Linked DNA regions of Homo sapiens: all the other regions are linked to region 2. The links are contacts of gene promoters, found by promoter capture Hi-C in blood cells and fetal thymus (Javierre and others, 2016). All regions are on one chromosome and are shown on one strand. The core of a region is centred on a gene start or on the middle of the fragment in contact, and the rest is flanking DNA. Distances in the headings are between cores, read along the strand shown.

Evidence for each region. Contacts are between HindIII fragments. The CHiCAGO score rates a contact against its expected background, and 5 or more counts as called.
Region 1: a contact is called between a fragment that was not itself captured here and the fragment with the promoter of CD2 in region 2, in 1 of 17 cell types (total CD4 T cells). The highest score is 5.4, in total CD4 T cells.
Region 3: a contact is called between a fragment that was not itself captured here and the fragment with the promoter of CD2 in region 2, in 6 of 17 cell types (naive CD4 T cells, total CD4 T cells, M0 macrophages and 3 more). The highest score is 8.1, in naive CD4 T cells.

Annotation. Positions count from the first base shown.
Region 1 is chr1:116,948,956-116,951,955 of GRCh38, forward strand. PTGFRN (prostaglandin F2 receptor inhibitor) reads left to right here. Exons shown (of 9, transcript NM_020440.4): 4 at 237-617. Among named protein-coding and RNA genes, the nearest start is that of PTGFRN, 41 kb to the left of the region's middle. The HindIII fragment of the contact is 481 bases long and covers 1,415-1,895 here.
Region 2 is chr1:116,752,805-116,755,992 of GRCh38, forward strand. It overlaps CD2 (CD2 molecule), which reads left to right and starts at 1,626. Exons shown (of 5, transcript NM_001767.5): 1 at 1,626-1,749; 2 at 1,827-2,147. The coding sequence starts at 1,689. RefSeq lists promoters at 1-1,743, 1,301-1,743, a silencer at 1-379 and a cis regulatory region at 213-242. The HindIII fragment of the contact is 7,255 bases long and covers 1-3,188 here.
Region 3 is chr1:116,927,562-116,930,648 of GRCh38, forward strand. All of the region lies in intron 1 of PTGFRN (prostaglandin F2 receptor inhibitor), which reads left to right. Among named protein-coding and RNA genes, the nearest start is that of PTGFRN, 19 kb to the left of the region's middle. The HindIII fragment of the contact is 759 bases long and covers 1,215-1,973 here.

The DNA.
Region 1 (3,000 bases), core at 405-2,904, 200 kb after region 2:
TATAGCAGATATATGTAAATGTTTGCGGCTATTGTTGTTTTTATAAAATAAGAAGAAATGTGGTATGTTCTGTTAATTTATTCATTAAATATTTCTCAAGCACTTACAACTGTACAAAGCCTTCTAACTTTAATGCTGTAAATAAGAACTTAAAAGGAGATGCTTTAAAGAGGGTGGAGAATAGAAGGGGCAAACATAATCAGATTACCTAGATGTATTTGTTTTTAATTTTCAAGTTCTGCGAGCAGCTGTGCCCAAGAATGTGTCTGTGGCTGAAGGAAAGGAACTGGACCTGACCTGTAACATCACAACAGACCGAGCCGATGACGTCCGGCCCGAGGTGACGTGGTCCTTCAGCAGGATGCCTGACAGCACCCTACCTGGCTCCCGCGTGTTGGCGCGGCTTGACCGTGATTCCCTGGTGCACAGCTCGCCTCATGTTGCTTTGAGTCATGTGGATGCACGCTCCTACCATTTACTGGTTCGGGATGTTAGCAAAGAAAACTCTGGCTACTATTACTGCCACGTGTCCCTGTGGGCACCCGGACACAACAGGAGCTGGCACAAAGTGGCAGAGGCCGTGTCTTCCCCAGCTGGTGTGGGTGTGACCTGGCTAGGTGAGTGGTTTGGAGAATGACTCTTAACCTCTTCAGCTTAACCCCTCCTCGGAGTTATCTGAAGGAGTTATCTCAGGAGGCTCTGCGCTTTGCATGACTTCGACATTATTTCTATTGGTTCATGCATACTTTGGCCCAGATAGATCCCAAGCTGGGGATGAAATAGAATCTGGCAGACAAGGGAAATGTTTAGATAATGTGGCCTCAGTTGTCTCAATACCCTCATTTGAGAGTATATAGTTTCCTTTTGTTGTCGACATTTGCAGGGTCAGGGCACTGCTGAATGGCTCTTTGAAATGAATCTTTGTTGGAGGGAGAACACTGCCATTCTTCCTTTGTTTCTCTTAGACTCCTAGGTGCTCCCTGGCAGGAGCTGGTGCTTTTCCAAAGCCCAATGCAGAAAGATAATTCCTTCAGTTATTAGAAAGCATTTTTTTTTTCACGTCACGCCCTGGAATCCCACAATATATCTGTATATACCACTTACAACTAAAGGGCCCGCCTGCTTCTATAGGCTTGTTTTGTGGACGCTCTCACCCCAGGTGTAATTTCCCCAGTGGAGGAGCAGAGTAGCTCTCAAGTGTTGAGCACCTTGCCACCCATTTTATAACAACCTGCCGTATATGTGGAGATCTTTGGCATGTCCTCTTACTTTATACTAAGCTCCTTTTCCCCTACCTCTTTTTTCCCTAAATGTTTGCCCTCTGGGCAAAATGTACACTAACTTTTCCTAATTTTTGTTATGTCTTGTAATTGCAAGTAATCAAAGGAGGGATGGGGTCAAGCTGGGTGTGGAAAGCTTCGCTCCCCACCTCCATTATTACAGAGATGGGACAGGCCTTTCATCACATTCCCCCCTGTTTTGATCTCTCTACTGTCCGTGAGTGCCTGAGCCCTGATAAAGGCATTTGGCATTGCTCTGATTATTAGCAGGCAAAACAGATCTTTAAAGGCCAGGAAACCATTTCCTCCTTTGTCTGATTCTTCTGCTATGACCTCCAACTCATACTTATCTATTCCTTATCTCTGCATGGAAATCTTCTCTTGGGTTAGTGGCATATTCGCTCTCCTTTTTTTTTTCCTCCCCAGTAAGCCTTTATTTGGCAAAGATGGGGAGTTGGCCAGTGGAGACAGAGGGGGCAGGGAGAAGAAGAGCAATGAGAGTAAGCGGAAGGGACAATCCGATTCCGATGGAGACGAGGCAGGGTGTTCATCAGCCCTGTTAGCAAAGTAATCCTTTGATATCTGAAAAGTAAAAGAAGCGGGGTTTATCTGGCAAGCTTTTTATTCCTGCCGTCTGAACCCCATGCAAGAGAGTCACTATGAAGTACTGAACTGGAACAATGTTGGCCCAGCTAGAACTCTCCTTAGCAACCTTCAAAATAAAACAGATGTTGTCAGCACCAAAAGAAGATTTTTCATCTCTGGAGCTGAATTTGTCTCACAGCTCTGATCCTTAGTGTATTGTATGGTGCTGTCAAATCCCAGCACTGGCTCTCCGTACCCGCTCCCCCTTCAGCTTCTGAATCCCAACTCGAGGACTTTTTTTTTTTTAATTGAAAGTGCTGCTTGCACTCCAATTTGAGGCTTCTTTGAAGTACGTGTGCATTGATCCCGGCATACCCGGGGGGAGATGCAGGGACTGTCAGACAACAGGAGCGGAGCTCTAGGAGGAATGGGCTCCTTTAACTGGAAGGGATTTGTTGGTAGCTGTGTTCTCCAGAGAGTGAAAAGAAATAAAGAGACTAAATTGTGGAAAAGGCTCAGTTACTATCCAAAGGATCCCGTCATTTGTTTTCCTTTGGAGTGCTACTACCATTGTGAAAGTCATCAGTGTGCTTTTCCTGACTGATGCTAACAGATACAGAACCTGCACCTTCCCTGCTGCTTTGCATGTAATAAGCACTCAATAAATATTAGCTGAACGGGTAAATAAACCAGTACCCACACATGGATTTTGTTAAAATATGTGCATAGGAAAGCTAGAATTGCTAAGAAAGCAGTAATGTTCAACTCCTAGGATATTCAGAGATATTTGCCCCTGAGTAAACCTAACGAAAGAGCGAGTAGTATGAAAAACAATTGCATTCTTTTTTTTTTCTTCCTCTTAAGACTTCTCCTCCTTCCCTGTGCCTATGACTCAGACCATTACAGCTGCTTGGACACTTGTCAGGAGCGGGTAGGGCATGAGCATAGCAGCAGACCCTTCTCAAAGACTTCCCCGCTGGACTCTGTCCAGAAGCCAGTGAGCCTGGCCTGACACTCCATGGTTGTCTCTAGATATGTAATGTGCATGTATATGCGTACGGATACCATACCACATACAACTTGGGACCAATATAAGGTAACCGAGAAGTGACCAAAAAAGATAGACAGACAACCT
Region 2 (3,188 bases), core at 376-2,875:
GTCACGCCTTTTCATTTTGTTCCTTATTTCTTCATCTGCATGTAAATCTTACTTCTTTATATCATCAGTTGTGTTCATCTTTTCTTTCTTACTTTGGATTATATGTTATATGTAGCCAGGCCTTCCATACTCAAACTATAGGAATATCTTTCTATATTGTCCTTTTAGCATTATTGTTATTATTTTATTTATTTAGTTATTTATTTTGAGACAGAGTCTCACTCTGCTCCCCAGGCTGGAGTGCAGTGGCACAATCCTGGCTCACTGCAACCTCCGCTTCCCAGATTCAAGCAATTTGCCTGCCTCAGCCTCCTGAGTAGCTGGGATTACAGGCGCACATCACCACACCTGGCTAATTTTTGTATTTTTAGTAGAGATGGGTTTCACCATGTTGGCCAGGCTGGTCTTGAACTCCTGACCTCAGGTGAGGAGGTCCGCCTCGACCTCCCAGAGTGCTGGGATTATAGCTGTGATCCACCACCCCCGGCCTCCTTTTAGCATTATTATAGTATTTTTGCATTTAAAACTTTAATCCAACTGTAGTTCATTATTGTGGATGACGCTCATACAACCATGAGGTAAATATTTGGCTTTCTTTTACCCAGTAACAGCAAACAACTGCTTTGACTTAATTTCATTTCCTTGGCAACTTTCTGACAGATAATATCCATATTTGTACTTAAAGTTGAAAAAGAAAACGAGCACCACTTTTGCAATTTTTACTCACTGTGACCTAAAGAATTATAACCCTGAAAATGTGCTTTGGAAGTCTGTCATGGTTATTTCTCTTTTTAGGCATCTTTTCAGGGCACACCCGTCTCTGCATCACTGTCTGTTTCCTTGTGTCACAAATTTCTGTTCTTTTTTTCTCTCCCTGTTCCCTCTCATTTATTTTTTCTCCTAATCTCTCCTTTTTCTTAACCACCTATAATGTTAATCACTTTAAATGCTTTTGACTCCTTTGTTTTGGTAGTTTAATTATATTTCATAGTCTCTATGCTTCTTTGTTTTGGAATAAGTTTTTATTTATCTAACTGTGAATTTCACTAGAGTTGTAAAATGTATGCCGAACATAGGATTTGGGGATTGCAAGCATTTACAGCTGATATTCAATTTCTTTCTTTTCACCACAAAAACGATTTTAGAACATGAAAAATATCTTTGGAGAAACAAAAAAATCAATTTCCTCATCATTTTATGGGTCTACATTTTTCAATATAATCATATGGGATAAATGTTTGCATTCTGCTATTGGCTTGTGAACATTTACCTATATTTCTATGTGGTCTTGTTAGGGACAGTATACCTAAGTGGATAAAAGGCTGTGTGGTTGAATTTGGCTTCTTGTTTACAAAAGAGTGATCCTTAGTGATCTACTTAGCCTCTCTGTTCCTTTTCTCTTTCACTGAGATGAGAAAACCTATCCTTCCCAATTTTTTTGTGTGAGAATTAAAATGCAGCAAGAAAACACACACTCATAAACACATCTGCTTTGGCAAAGGAGCACATCAGAAGGGCTGGCTTGTGCGCGCTCTTGCTCTCTGTGTATGTGTATTATGTTTTATGTTACTGTAAAAGATGTAAAGAGAGGCACGTGGTTAAGCTCTCGGGGTGTGGACTCCACCAGTCTCACTTCAGTTCCTTTTGCATGAAGAGCTCAGAATCAAAAGAGGAAACCAACCCCTAAGATGAGCTTTCCATGTAAATTTGTAGCCAGCTTCCTTCTGATTTTCAATGTTTCTTCCAAAGGTAAGCATAAGAGTCAAAGAAGTCCCAACCCAGCTTTCCCTGAAAGTGACTCTCAGTAACTCTTTTGCTTTTTATAGGTGCAGTCTCCAAAGAGATTACGAATGCCTTGGAAACCTGGGGTGCCTTGGGTCAGGACATCAACTTGGACATTCCTAGTTTTCAAATGAGTGATGATATTGACGATATAAAATGGGAAAAAACTTCAGACAAGAAAAAGATTGCACAATTCAGAAAAGAGAAAGAGACTTTCAAGGAAAAAGATACATATAAGCTATTTAAAAATGGAACTCTGAAAATTAAGCATCTGAAGACCGATGATCAGGATATCTACAAGGTATCAATATATGATACAAAAGGAAAAAATGTGTTGGAAAAAATATTTGATTTGAAGATTCAAGGTAAGTGTTCATTCCCTTAATTGCTTTATTTCAGTGTGGGTGCTATTTGGCAAGTTGGAAAATAGCATTTCTAATATTCCCCAGCGCTGACCTCTGCCTCCAGGGGGGCTATACAGGAAACCAGATGCATGTCTCCTGCCCCAGTGGAGACTGTGGTCCAATGCGGGAATGGGATCCACACATCTGATAGACCCTCAAGTCTACCTGCCTACAACTCTGTCTTCAGGTGGTTACAGGAATGTGGGGTTGGGTGAAGAACCTGGATTAAGGTGGCATTAATCGGGAGGGGGACACAGGTAGGCCGAGGGAAAAGGCAACTGTTCCAGGTTGCTGATGAATCGGCGAGCTAAGAGTGGGGCGAGAAGAAGAGGCTGACTGGAGAGCAGCGGGCCTTTCATCGACAGAGCCCATTTCAAGCCAGGCTGCCCTGAAGGAGGAGTTATATGGCAGAAAAGGGCTGGAAACAACATATTTAAGGATGAACAGCCCTTATTTTGGATCTGCTTGTCAGAGTGATACAAGGTGGCAGGTGATTTTTGCTGATATGTGTAGAAGATGCACAAGGTGTGGCTTTGTATATCTCTGCCTGTACTGGGAGGACAGGAGTGGATATTGAGGATGGGGTTAGGGAGACTAGTTAGAAAGCTGCTGCTGTAATCCAAGTGGAGTGAGGACCAATTAAATCAGATTTTTTTTGCATGCGGCCTGGGTATCATTAGGTTCTAAAGCTCCCTGGGGGATTCTAATGAGCTGCCAAAGTCAATCGCCACTGGCCTAGACCAAAGGGTGCCTCTAAAATAGGAAGAATGAGGATAATAAGGGTCAGGCATAGAGAAAGGTGGCTTAGGCAAGGGAGAGAAGGTAGAGAAAGTGGAATCGAAATGCCATTGAAGTTGAAAGCCCGGGGGGATGCTGGGGAAGTAGTGACAAGAAGGGAAAAGAAGAAGCTGCGCTTGACTTGGGGAGGCAGACAGGAACCCCAGCATGAGCACAGGCCAGCCATTCAGTGAGCAAATAAGCATTTCTGTGCTTCACACAGAA
Region 3 (3,087 bases), core at 344-2,843, 170 kb after region 2:
TGTTCCCTGTTGCCCAGGCTGGAGTGCAGTGGTGCAATCATGACTCACTGCAACCTTTGCTTCCCAGGCTCAAGCCATCTTCCTGCCTCAGCCTCCCAAATAGCTAGGACCATAGGCACATGCCACCATGCCCAGCTAATTAAATTTTTTTTTTTTTTATAGAGACGAGATCTATGTTGCCCAGGCTGGTCTTGCACTATTGGCTTCAAGCCATCTTCCCACTTCAGCCTTCCAAAGTGCTGGGATTACAGGTGTGATGCAGGAGGTAATGGTTGTCTTGGCAGCAAAAACTAAGAAAAGTTGCATTGACTTTGAAGAGCCTGTCAGTACTGATGAAATGCAAAGTCTTTGTCGCCTCCTTTCTAATCTTGTTTGATTTGGAGAACATGCGTATGAAGGCTGAAAGAAGATTTCCAGATATAAATGGCAGGATAGATAACATTAGAGCCAGAACTGCCATGTAAATGTCAATTAGAAACAAGATTTAAGTCTCTGGACCACCCTTCTTACCCCCTGTGGCCTGTTGGTCACACTGCCCCTTCCTCGTGTTTCTGTAGCCAGGCACAGGCTAACGAGGACTCAGAGAGTGCCTGCTATGATAATTTTAGCCCCTGGAAAAAATAACAGACTTTGTGAGATTTAATGGCCACACCTGGGCCTTGTCATCACTTAGTATTCTTTCACCTTTTTGATTGTCAATTCTGATATTTCCCTCTGTGACCACAACCTCCTTGCTTTACTCCTTTCAGATTCCCTCCTATCTGTTGAACCTATTCTTCATCCTAATTGTGATTCCCTGATTTTGAACATTCTTCCTTTTCAGTCCATCAGGCCATTCTCACTTTACTTGGCTCTGAATCCAGGGTAGACTCTGGTGGTCAGCATTTCAGCAGTGAGCTTGTTAACAACCTGGGACCCTCTGTCATATTTCTTTGCCAGACCTCACATTGTATTACATTTCAGTAATTCACACCAATCGTAGTTTGTAAGCCTGAACTTTATTATCTTGCTGGGGAAAATCTCAAAGTCTGCCCATCTGAGATTCCAGCAAAGTCCTGGCATCTTTACCGCAGCTCAGCTCTCCTTTGTGTTCCTTTTGTGATGGTTTCCTATTATATTTCTTCTGATGCTTATTCTAAACCTTTGTCAGGATCTTTAGCATCTGAACTCCTTTCTACTATTTTACTGAGACAATAGAGACCAAAGAAACCTCAAGCTTTTGCCTCAAAACTTTTTAATATTTTTACTCCTTTTCTCTGTCTAACCTGAAAAAAAGTAAGGGCTCTATCTTTGGCTCTTTTTCCTCTCTATGTGTATTCTTTCCCCAAGTGACCCCAGGCAACCTGTGGCTTTAAATACTCTGTGTGTGCTGATGACTCTCTAGTGAGTATCTCCAGCTTGGACCTCCCCACTGAGCTCCAGACTTAAACATCCAGCTGCCTACTCCACTGCACTTCCACTTGGTGTCTGATAGGGACCTCACATTTAAAATGACCAGAAGACAACTCTTGCTTTCCTTGGTACAGATTTGCTTCCCTCTAATTACTTTGCTGTCTCAGTAAGTGGCATCACCCTGTATGCCAGATGCTCAAGCCAGAAGCCTAGATCATTCTTGATTGCTCTCTTCTTCATTCCCCACATTCAAAAAGTCAGTTTGTCTTTTCATTCATACACAAGTTAAGTCCTGAATCTGACTACTCCTGAGAGTCACCACCACTGTCAACCAAGGCCGGTGTTCATCAGCTTTTGCTTGGTCTACAGAAACTTCCCCCATGCTGGTGTCCTTGCTTCCAAATTGGCCCCATATAATCTGTCTTTCCCACAGCAGTCAGACTGAAATTTCTACAAAGAAAGTAGGCTCTATCGTTTTCTCGTTGATGTGCTTCCCATTTCAACCAGAATCCAGGGCCCCTGCCCCCTCATTCATTGTGATCAGTCACAGTGATCTTTTTTTTCTGTACTTTAAACACCCAAGCTTGCTCCATCACAGTGCTTTTATATTTGCTGTTCTGTGTCTGGAGCAGTTTTGCCCCAGAGCTTCAATCACTGTCTCTTCGTCATTCTGGTCTAAACTCAGACATGACCCTCTCAGAGAGGCCTTTCCTGACCACACTTCATATTGTCATATTTTAACTGAATAGCATTTGTCAGTGGGTCTACTTCATCACTGTCTCTTTCCTAGAACACAGTTTTCTTGCAGGCAGGGACTGGTGGCCATGTGTCCCCAGTGCCTAGAAGGTGCTTTGGGGGACTGACTGGCTGACTTTGCAGGATGAACCCCCTGCTTGCTGCTTCAGTGCCTTTTTCATGGTTGTGCCTTCTCTTCCCTACATCTTTGTTCCTTCTCTCCTGGCTCTTACTTTCCAGATCCCATACCCGTCATTGAAAATGCGCTTTCCTGGAGGTTGCCAGTGATTACTTAGCCATCAGTTCATTTCTCTTTTCTCAGCACCCACCTTCCTTGACTTTTCTGCATGTTTGACATTGTTGTTCATTTTTTTCAAACAAAGGCATATAGTAGGAGTCTGCTTTAGATATTGTGCAGGATGCAGATATGGGTAGGAAACAGCTCCTGCTTTAAAGGAGCTTGCAGTCTGCCAGGAGCAAGTAGATGAGTAATGTTCATAAAGAAACAGTAAGTGTTACTTCAAACCCTTTCTTGAAATTCTTGCATCCCTTGGCTGCTAGGGCATAAGCCTTTCCTGGTTTTCTTCCTAACTGGTTACTATTTCTTTTTTCTGTGCTGACTCTTTTTCTTCTGCTCATGCCTTAAACATAGGACTTTGCTGTGGTTTTGTCCCATTCCCTCTTTTCTATACAGTAATCTGTCTCCCGATGGTGTCATCGACTCCCACGTCTTCACTGCTGGGCAGATTTCCTTTTTACCCCCCACTCCCTCCGTGCATGTGACTCCACATTGATGTTAGGCTCAAATATCTTCTAGGGGTTTCCATTCCAACTGTCCGGTGGACATTTCTACTGGTCAAAATCTTACTATAAGAAAATAGATTTCACCAGTGATTAGCTTCCCTTTGGCTTCTGTCTCCCCTCACAGGTCTACCAGTTGACCCTTCCTCTGTTGTGGCT